Regions from separate parts of the Homo sapiens genome. Here region 2 is linked to region 1. Evidence: promoter capture Hi-C in human tissues and cell types (Jung and others, 2019). All regions are on one chromosome and are shown on one strand. Each heading gives the region's core, a stretch centred on a gene start or on the middle of the fragment in contact. The rest is flanking DNA. Distances are from core to core; before and after follow the strand shown. Region 1 holds the start of SLC44A1 (solute carrier family 44 member 1). Region 2 overlaps SLC44A1 (solute carrier family 44 member 1).

Region 1 (5,455 bases), core at 1,319-3,818:
ATATAGGAACAACAGTATTCTAAAACTGGTAATGCTCCTGAAAGGAGAGTTAAAATACCAGCCGATTAGTAACATTTCACAAATGAAGAAGGATGCCAAAAATCTCAAATAAGAAAAAAAAAAAAAAATCACCAGCTCTTTGGCACAAAACCTGCTCCTCAATGCTCCACTGAACACTACAAGTCCCTAAAGCTGAACTTAAAAGCATGTGACAGCTGTTGATTGGTTATAGGAATCCACAGGAAAAAAATGCACCCCTTGGGTGCATGACATGCATCTTATCTGTGGAACAAGGCATGTTCTACAGTGAGAGGAGGTAAAAGAAAAGAAAACGTATACGATAGCATTCTGAAAAGTATGACGTGGAGCTAGACAAATGCAAGACCCACTATCGGTTTTAAAGCAGAGTTCTGATGCAGCACCCATCCCTCCCAAATTTAACTGTTCATGCACTGAACAAGCTATCCATAAACTATCAATACTTTTCTGTCTTAAAGGCATTTCACCACCAAAAGGGAATGTAAATTAACTCAATTCTGAAAAGAAAGGCAATCTGAAAAACACCTTTTTGGTGAAAATTATACTTAAGTAAATATTAAAGAGCACCCAACTAGACCCCCACAAATTCCTAACCAGTTGAAAGTTATGTGCAATTCTACACCTTTATATGTTAATATGAAAACTCTGATATACCAAGCCTCTCCTTCCTAACACCTCTACGTATAGTTTTACTTTGCTATTATAACTGAATAGGAATCTTTAACTACACCAAAAAGCCTGACTATAATGCTAGCAGGAAAAAAAAAAGCTAACGGGTAAGCAAACACTCAAAAAAAAAAAAAAAAGACTGGAGGAATAGGATGATAGGATGGATACCTAATAAAACACAAATGTCCCCCATTCATCTGCAATTCTAGTCATTTTCTCTCTAACAGATCTCAGATTTTCAGAACAAGTATGCAGGTTATTTAAAACTGAGTTATATATAGTCATTTAGCAGCAGCAAAAACACTTCTGGCATTATCACAGATGCTAGCTTTCTGGAGGAATTTTTTCCCCCCAAACTAGCGTTTTTCTTCACCAAGAACCAACCATCCTTTATTTCTAAAAACAAGAGCCCTTTTCTGCCCCCTAAAACAAACAAATCACAGACCACAGTTAATGAAACTACGCTAATGAAACTGTGAGATTACATCCCAGGCGTTGTCAGAGCCTATTTTTCATACACCACCACAAGACAGTTTGATGCAGTATTCCTGATTGCTTTTTATAGTATTTGTAAATACACTCGCTAATCCACTAAATTAGGTAATTTACAAACAGGTCCTCTCAGTTATTAGTGGCCAGTAGTCGAGTTCTATTACATTTGATCCTCGTACAGTTGTCTAAACATTTCCACCCAGGTTAAGGGCTCGGATCCGAGAGAAGGAGGTTGGCGAAATTTGGATGGGGGCAGGGTAGAAGCTGAGAGAAATCTCTGCATCTCAGCCCTCAGCGACAACATTCAGCCAGTGCCCACAGAAAAACTAAATTCGGAACCTCTTCCTCCTGTTACACTGGCAACAAAGAGGGAGTTTCCGTAGCGCTCCCGTCACCCACCAGGTGCCCAATCTCCTTCCCAGCCCAGAGTCGGCGCTCCCGCAGGGGCCTCCGAGTGCGGGGAGGCCGCGGGGCCCGGGTCACGGCACTAAGGGGGGATGGGGTGCAAGCGAGCAAGCGAGGTCTGCGGAGCGGGCCGTGGAAGGGCTCCGGGACCCGCTGAAACCATCTGAACCCAGCCAGGGGGCAGCGGGCAAGAGAAAAGGGACAGAATATCTAATGAAGCAGAAACTGGAATTCGGTGGGAGAGGTGAAGAGCTCTTGCTGGGGGTACACCTGCGAGGAGCACAGAAAACGGGCGGCGGATGGCGGGGAGACTCCACGGAGGTGGAAGAGAGGAGCCAGGCCCGGAAGAACAGGGAAGGGGATGCCACCTGGGGCAGAGGAGGCGCCAGTGCAGCCTCTACCTGCAGGCGGGCGGGACGGGCAGCTCAGGTGTGACTGGGAGGAGGGGGCCGACTGGGGAAGGGGCCGGGAAGAGCTGAGGGCGCACTAGGCGCCGCGCAGAGGCGCCTTTGAGTCGGCAGCCGCGGAGCCAGCGCACGGGCATCGGCGGGACCCGGCGGACGGAAAGGCGGAGTGGGGGTCTTTGGACTGCACGGTGCGCTCAGGGGAGGCTGGGGACAGCGAGAGGTATCGGGCGGCGGGCGCCCGCCGCGCGACGCGGCGCACGGGAGGCATCCGGGCGGGCGGCCGGGAGGCGGGAGCCCCTCACCTGCGCGGCGGAGGAGGCGGAGCTGCAGCAGCCCATGGCGGGGCCGAAGGAGCCCGGAGGCGGCGCCGGGCGCGCAGCTACGCCCCGGAGCCCCTCGGCATGCGAGCCGGCGGGCGCCCGGGGAGGGCGCGGCCTGGCACCGCACGGCTAGGCGGCGGCGGCGGCTGCAGCGGCGGCTGGTACTCAAGAGGCGGCGCGGCTAGAGGCAGGCGCCGGCCACATCCCCCGGCGGCGGCGACGGCGGCTACGCGTCTCCTGCTCTGCTCCTGCTGCAGCAGCTGCTCCCCAGCGGAAAGGGGCGGGCGGCGGCGGCGGCGGCGCCTCCCTCTGTCCCCCCGCCTCCCGCCTCCCGCGCCCAGTCCCTCTCCCGCTCCCTCTCCCGGGCCGCCGCCTCCTCAGCGCCGCGCGCGTCTCCCATCAGACTCCCCGCCCCCAGTGCAGCGCCGTGCTGGTGGCAGGGCGGCGGCAGCCAGAACAAGGCCGGGCCCTTCCGCGCGTGTCAGAGGCTGCGCGGCGCCGGGCTTATTTAGCTGTGGCACCGAGGCAGCTCTCTGCCTCGAGGCTGGAGGGCAACGCGGTCTGAGGCAGCCAAAGACCGGGCCAACTCGCTGCCAAAAAGGGGCCGGATTGCTTCCGGATCTAGGAGGCAAGCGGGACTTCTCCCTCTCCCTACTGGACGCACAACTCAGGATCCTGATGGCTTCTTACCGCCCCGTCGGCTGTTTTTTTTCTCCAGAGGAAAGCGTACACAAGAAACCTTTCCTGGAGAAGGAATAGGTGATAAGAAGACGGGAAGAAACAAGCATCTGTTGCTACTGTCCCCATTTTGCTGATGTGGAAACTGAGGCTTGAAAGGGACCAAGAACCTAATGAAATGTTCCCAAGGTTGAAATGGTAATAAATAGCCAGAAATGAGGAAAAGGCAAAAAGTTATCCAGGCTCGCAAGTCAAAGCCATACTGGATCTAAGCTAAACTTTCTTATACAGGATAGTCTACAAAAAACAATAAGGGGACATTAATTTATTCATATTAAAAATACTTACTGAAGACACACTACGTTCCAGTGACTAGTACTGGGAATAAAGAGGCGAGCAAAAGAGACTTACCAAGTTCCTGTTGCTAAATCAGTAAGACTCAAGGAAGTAGCAACAAGTTAGAGTAGACGTGGTAACTACCTTCAAGAAATTTACAATTCCAAACGAGTCGTTAGGAAATACAGTATGAGGTGAAAACAGTTAAAAAGTGAAAGAAATAAAACTAAAGATAATGATGTTAAAAAAAACCCCACATTATCAGGCACTGTTATAGCCTTCATATGTCATTTCATCTTGTCAAAGAATGTCTCAAAAGACAGCCACAGGAAAGAAAAGAAAAACTTTATTTGCAAAGCTGCAAGGGAGTGAGACTTCCAAAAGGACTGATTCACCAAATATGAGACATCAAGTTTTAAAGATTAGTTAAAGTATAGAGGGAAGAAAAGAACACAGAATTAAATTGACTTTACATGCACTGAAAGGGAATCTAAGCCAAGGAAAGTTGGAATGGTAGCCTGTAAGGGGACAGCTACAGAAAGGGCCAGGGAAGAAGAATTCCTAATTGATGTTTTCCTATGCCATTTCCTGAGTTCGTGACTGTGGACGAGTTATCTCTCCAAATCTCATTGTCCGCTTCTGTGAAATGCTGGTAGCAGGGATGACTGCAAAGGCTTGTGGTCAAGATTAAATAACATAAGAAAGTGCTGCTAGGTCAGCAAGTACTCAACTGATTGAGATCTTGAATTCTTCTGCATTCTTTCTAGTTTCCTTTCAGGTTAATCAGAGGGTCCACCATACCACGGAGCTGGCGAATCCTACATGTGTTTCCCATAACCATTAAACCAATAAATACAAGTGAAGACATAAAACTAATGGTTCTAGTCCCAATTCTGGTTGTAAACTCCAGAATTAGATTGTAAACTCCCTGAGAACAAGGAAAAGTATTTTCTCCTTTGTATCTCCCTCAGCTCTCTCAAATGTTTGTTGAATTATTCAGTGCAGCCAAGAATAAAAAACATTCCCTTGAGATTTTCCCTCAAAGCCAGAAAAGTACATCTTGTTTTTAACTCGGGGAGGAGGCTGAAAGTAAAACTACAGTCCTAAACAAGAAGCCATCTGTCTTCCTTCTTTATAGTCAAGGAAAGGGGAGTTGTTTCTCTTTGCAGAGTCAATATGGGAGCATTTCTCTCAGATTAGAAAAATCTTTTTGGCTAGTGCTGCCGTTCCGTGTAGTAGCTAGTGCTTATTCTGTAATTGGAACTGTAGAAGGAGATAAATGCGTAACAGACTGTGGCAGTGCTTCATAAAATGTATTTTGCTTTTTTAGAGATCTCTTTCCTAGACATAGATAATGGGTGAATATAATTGAAAGCAACTACAGTCCGTTGTGCTTGACTGATCTGCACTCTGGTTTTCCCTTTAAGTGTTAATAGAACTAAGAGTTCTAAGATTCTGCAAGGTGCTTTGTAAATACACCAATTATGTATGTATGCACCATATATGCATATGAATCTGATGTTTCAAAATTATACTTCGTCATTAGCATGAGGGAAACTAACAGCTCTTGCATTGATATGCTGTACCTTCTAAGAATGAGTCTCTTTCCCATCCCCCTCATGCCCAAAAAAAGCCTCGTAAAAGGAGTGATTTAGAGAGGGGCAAATTACTATTCCTTTTCACTCTTATAAACAAGTACACACAGCATTCAATGAAATTAAACCACAGCAAACTCAGAAATCACAAAAGGGATTTTTTTTTTCTTAAGCCAGTGATCAGGGTACTTATCTACTATGGTGAGATGTTACCAGGGCAAGCCCCTTCGTAGGGGCTTAGGTTGTTTTTCTTTTTCTTTTGGGAGAAAGGAGGTTTTTAGAAACTTATGTAAAAACCATCTGCGCTAACCAGGATAAAATTATAAGGTCTATCAATCTTGGTGCTGCAGGGTAAAATCGGATCACCAGCTGAGCCAGCCAGAAATGCTTCCCAGTGGTCTGGTATTGCATAATTGGCTGTGTGAATTCCAAGGGTTCCAGCTTCAGGTGGAGGTCTTGGTGCTGGTCACTCACTGAGGGAAAACATTGAATTAATGGTCTTTCCAATGATTTT
Region 2 (5,455 bases), core at 1,997-4,496, 120 kb before region 1:
TTCCTTGAGACGGAAGCAAGAAAGGACCCACACGTCTCCATTCTCTCTCCTCTGTTATCATCAGACCAGCTTACACGAGGAGAATGCCCAACACTTCCAAACTAAACTATAAAAGCTTTTTTTGTTTCCCTCATTAGTTTTTAGAAGCTTCATTTCATTTGAGAATTATTATTATTCCTCTTTTGCTTCTTTCTTATCACCCCACCCTGCCCCATTCCATCTGCTTTTAGGGCAGAAGTCTATTTGTTGGTAGATAAGCAGCAATAATTTCTTTTCTCCACCCCTCTGAGAAATTTCTGTGAGGGTCGAATGTCCAGAAATTTAGCCTTTTAAAAGGCAATATTTCTATGGATCTATGCAATTCCTTTGTATTCAACCCAACTGAAAAAAAGTAGGTGGATATTTTGCAAGCTCTTTCACTCACTCCCAAGGTAGGAAGATGAACTGGATACACAAAGGTCAAGATGACCTCTTCAGGAAGAAAAATGTGCTGCAGATCACAGCAGGCAAATGAAAATTCCCTCCTTTTCTATACTTCCTAGTCTAAAATAATTCTTGCTTAAGTTCTTAAGAATTTCGGAGTCCTTTGTGGCTTTCCCTGATAACTATTCTCTGAGCTTTCTTCAGACTTCTTGGTTGAGATTTTTAGAGTCCACCCACCTTCTCAGACAGCCTTCCTTATCTGGAGTTAAACTGCCCACAGACAGACATCACTGATTAACATTTAGCCCACGCTCAACATTTGCTTGGGCAGGACACAAGCTTGAGAATATTCAACCCCCAGGAGCAAGGTGAAGGATGACCACCATCCAGGAATCTTTTTAAAGGATGCCTGTTAGCCTACGCAATCCCTGGTTGTACTTTTGTGTGATGGGATATAGTTAAAAAGTACTGATCATGTGAAAGAAAATATGTTAGGGCAGAGGGTCACCATGCATGGAACAGGCCTGTGTGGCCATCTGTCCCAGAATACAACTTCTTCATTTTCACATCTTCTTTCCTTTCTCTAGTGAAGGACCCAGAAATTCTCTTAAAGTTTAAAATATTCACATAATGACTCACTTAATAGGGGCAAGCTACACAATAATGCTAAGGGAATATAGGGTATGTGCAGTTCTGTGTGGATTCGTATAAATTAAAGAAATGAAAGGGTAATTACAATTATTCCTTTCTTATTTGAGGCAAAGGAGAGAAGGGGAATGCTATGGTCTGAATGTTTGTGTCTTCTCAAAGTTGGTATGTTGAAACATAGTCAGCAAGGTAATGGTATTAGTAGGTAGGGTCTTCAGGAGGTGATTAGGTCATGAGGGCTCTACTCTCATGAATGGATTAGTGCCCTTATTTAAAAAAATACCCCAAAGAGCTGTTTTGTCTCTTCCACCATGTGAAGTCACAGCAAGAAAGCACCATCTCTGAACCAGGAAACAGGCCCGCACAAACCACTGAATTTGCTGGTGCCTTGTTCTTGGATTTCCCAGCCTCTAGAACTATTGGAATAGTTCTCATCAACTACATAACTATGAAAAATAAATTTCTGTTGTTTAGAAGCCACCTAGTGTATGGTATTTTGTTATAGAAGCCTGAACAGATTAAGACAGGGCACAAAGTCAAACCCATACTGTAGGCTTTATCTAATTTTGTTCTAAATTCTTAGACTTTTTCAAGGTCATAAAAATTACAAGTGTGTTGCAAATCTTAATTTCAACAGGCTTTCTTTCTTTTTTCTTGAAAGAGTCTCACTCTGTTGCCCAGGCTGGAATGCAATGGCTCAATCTCGGCTCACTACAACCTCCACCTCCCAGGTTCAAGCGATTCTCCTGCCTCGGCCTCCGGAGTAGCTGGGACTACAGGCACGAGCCAGCACACCTGGCTAATTTTTGTATTTTTAGTAGAGATGGGGTTTCACCATGTTGGCCAAGATGGTCTCGAACTCCTGACCTCAAATGATCCACCTGCCTCGGCCTCCAAAAGTGTTGGGATTACAGGCGTGAGCCACCGTGCCTGACCTCAATAGATTTTCTTTAAAAACATAATTGTCGTAGTTTACAGAATGAATCATTACAATTTGAGATGTGTGCGTATTTTCTATAATAAACCATATTTTTGTTTGCTTACACCACTCAGAAATGTATATATATTTATATGTATATAAGTGTGATATAATGGCAGCAGTGTGATATACTGGAAAGAGCAAGGCAAAATGATTTGAAAACTTCTTCCACCTTTAGGTCTCGTGATTTGCCACAAGATGCCAGTCTCAATTTTCTCATCTATGAAACAGATGAGAAAATAATGCTAGCCTTACAGAGTTGTGTTGACCACATTTCAAGTGTGGCATTTCCTATGAGCCCAGGAGACATGAAGCTCTGCAGGTGATCAGTCCCCACATTGTAGCACTTTGTATTCCCAAATAGAACTACAAAGTATGAGTTCAGAACACCTCTCCCTAAGCCTTTCCTCACATGTTTGATTTACTACTATTTTAATGTTCCACTTAAAACTTCAAACATCGTGCCTACGAAATGCTGATCCAAAATGGACAAAATCTGTAAAAAAAAAAAAAGACCAACATCTCAGGGTTGTTGGTACTAAATCACTGACTAATGTTTAGCTTGGGATATGCTGAAAACCTTCCATTTGTTAACCTTTTATCGACTATCTTGATATCATATGACTTGTTTTCTTCCTTCAGTATAACTGCACATCTCCTTTTCAGGATTTTTATAGTTTTGTATCACCCTGTTAGTCTTTTTGAGTCTAAATATTCACTAATATAATTAACAGTTCATTCAGAAAACACTTAAGGACCACCTATTGTATACTGGGCACTGTGCTAGCTTCTGAGGAGACCAAGAAAAAGAAGAACTTTAAAGGAGCTAGAAGTTTAAAGGTAAAGTTAACAGATAACTTCGATATAGTGTTGTTAGTATTTGAATACTAAGGTATGACCTCAGCTTCTAACTCTGCTGAGTTAGAAGCTCAGCAGAGGGGCTGGGGTGAAGAGGGATGGCTTCTTGGAGGTGACGCTCAGGCAGAATCATTAAGGTTCAGTAGGAACTAGTCAGATTCCAGGCACATTTGGAAAACTGCAAAAGCAAAAGGTGCCTGGGGGTACGGCAGTAGGATTGAGACTAGAGATCTGGGCTTAGCACATCTCTCCGAGGATAAGCTATTTAGTGATGGGTATAAAAATGCAATTATGATCATCTTTAGTGTATCCATTACCTTTCTGATAAAGATGACTTGGCCTCAAACCAATTTTAAAGAACACAATTTTTCAGGTTGTTATGGCCTTACAAATTATTTTAAGAATGAGCTTCCAAACACTTGTACATCCATAGGGAATATTATGACCTATAAGAATGTATTTTGCTAATGAAACATCATACCTACTTTCTCATATTAACCATAGAACCCAATAAAGCAAAGTCCAGGCATGCTCAATACCATGGGCATAGAACTATCAACCTGTGACTATCTTGGAGTGAATGGAAAGTGCAATGCTACTCTTCAATCACTTAGCAGTAAATGGTGAGAAAGTCAATTTTATCTCTGGCCTATTAGATGAGGGCATTAATACATTAGAATTGATTTTTAGGGAATGGAAAAGTAACTTAAAAAAATAAAGAAAAGAAGGAAGGAGTGCCCCACAGAGACTCCCAGATCCTCAGATATAGAAAGATAGAGGACTAACCCATTCACCTAGGCCCTTTTATCCTATAAATATCAATTCTTCCATTCAACCTTATTAAGTAGTACTTCCTTTGATAATATTTCCCAGGCCAATATCATAGTGTTTAGCAGTTGGGTCAAAAAAAAAAAAAGTATCAGCATAGAGAGCACACTAGTTCGAATGATAGTAGCTAGTTGCAAAGAGGGATAAAGTGTCACAACAGCTTTACACTGAAGTTTTCAAACAACATTTTTAAAAATGAAAGGGTAATCATAGCCACAGTAGTCAGATTCTTAGGAAAAACTTAAAAAATGAAGGAATGTGAATTAAGGGATGAGAGATAAATGTTTTTCCTGAAAGACGAACCAGAGTGATGTTTTATCTATTTATTAAAATAAAAATAATAACATATGTAACAAATCTGTACATGTACTCCCTAAACCTAAAAGTTGGAAAAAATTAAAATAATAATGAGCCTTGGTAAGCATATACATTAATTTAAAAAATAAGAATATGATTGAAATAGACATACTTTATCAAGGCACAATGTACAATACCACAAGAAAAACATAACATCTTTCAATTAAGTTTATCTTGGGAGAAGAAACAATGAACCTATCTTTGAAAGTAAATATTAGATTTATTTTTAAAATATTTTACCTGATTTAAATAATTTAGGCACTTTTCAAGACACCAAAGGCAACAAATGCAAGATTTCAGCACACATCGTGCACAAGCATTTTCCTGGATGGGGGAAAAATGGAAATAATAAAAAAACCAAAGAATCAAACTGTCACATAGAAGACTTCAAACGTTAGAAAAATAAATAAAAATTTAAAAATCACAATTTATGCTTCAAAGCCTCCATACTTGTCCACTTTCTCCTTAAAACATAATGACTGAATTATTTTTAATAAGTTCAATTAAATATTTATTTAGTCTCTACTGCATATACAGTGAAGTTTATAACACCTGCAAGGAACTTACAATCTAGTAGGAGAAAAAAAATACCAAACACAAAAAAGGTTAGAATCAGAATATAGTATAGATACTAAGTGTTATGAGAGTGGAGAACAAAGAGACAGCATTGTTTGGGAGATGGGAGGAATCAGGAAAGGTTTCTACAAAGGAGTAGAATTTGAGCTAAACTAGTTGAAGTGCATGTTATTCCCACAGTCAAGGAAGGGAAGAAGTTCTAAGGAGGAAGGTATGTGAGTCAACAGAGAGGAAGAGCAGCACAGGATACTTTTAGTTACTAGTGACTGGATGAATTTTGCCAGAGCATATGGAGTGCATGAGTGGGAGACAAGGGAGAAGGGCTGGATTTTGCCTTGTAAAGACTTTGAAGAAAACACAACTTTGTATTTAACATTATTGGGTGCTTTACTACATGCAGAACTGAGGTCTGGAATGTGCCCACAGAAAGTACAGAAATGCATTTTCCCCTTACCTTTCCTTTGAGCTGACTGTGAATATACATAAGGATCATTCGCGGAATTTTGACTAATGTGATAATGAAAGATCCTTTTGCCACCGTACCTAGGTGGTAACGAATAAGGCGATTTACTGATGCCAAAATAGGTGTAAATGGCAAATTCCTTTTATCCCTATTTAAAAAATGACCAAAAAGACAATTAAAACAAAGCCTAGATCAGGATGGAAACACAGGTATGGTTTAGAGTCCAACGCAGTGAAAAAAAAAATCAGCTCATCATTCTTATTTTAGCTTTATGACAAAATGGCCAAGTGATATATAACTATTACAAATGCTACAGACATGCT

The links. The method cuts DNA at HindIII sites, captures the fragments that hold promoters and counts their contacts. A contact is called where the count stands out against the background at its distance.
Region 2: a contact is called between a fragment that was not itself captured here and the fragment with the promoter of SLC44A1 in region 1, in 3 of the 25 tissues and cell types used here (dorsolateral prefrontal cortex, hippocampus and mesenchymal stem cells).

Annotation. Positions count from the first base shown.
Region 1 is chr9:105,241,764-105,247,218 of GRCh38, reverse strand. SLC44A1 (solute carrier family 44 member 1) reads right to left here and starts at 2,568. Exons shown (of 16, transcript NM_080546.5): 1 at 2,315-2,568. The coding sequence starts at 2,350. LOC112268038 (a long non-coding RNA gene) reads left to right here and starts at 1,626. Exons shown (of 3, transcript XR_002956866.2): 1 at 1,626-2,200. RefSeq lists silencers at 1,626-1,705, 2,046-2,185, 2,196-2,795 and enhancers at 1,118-2,021, 2,022-2,926. The HindIII fragment of the contact is 14,998 bases long and covers 1-5,455 here.
Region 2 is chr9:105,365,308-105,370,762 of GRCh38, reverse strand. SLC44A1 (solute carrier family 44 member 1) reads right to left here. Exons shown (of 16, transcript NM_080546.5): 11 at 5,124-5,280; 12 at 4,334-4,417. Among named protein-coding and RNA genes, the nearest start is that of FSD1L, 80 kb to the left of the region's middle. The HindIII fragment of the contact is 5,581 bases long and covers 456-5,455 here.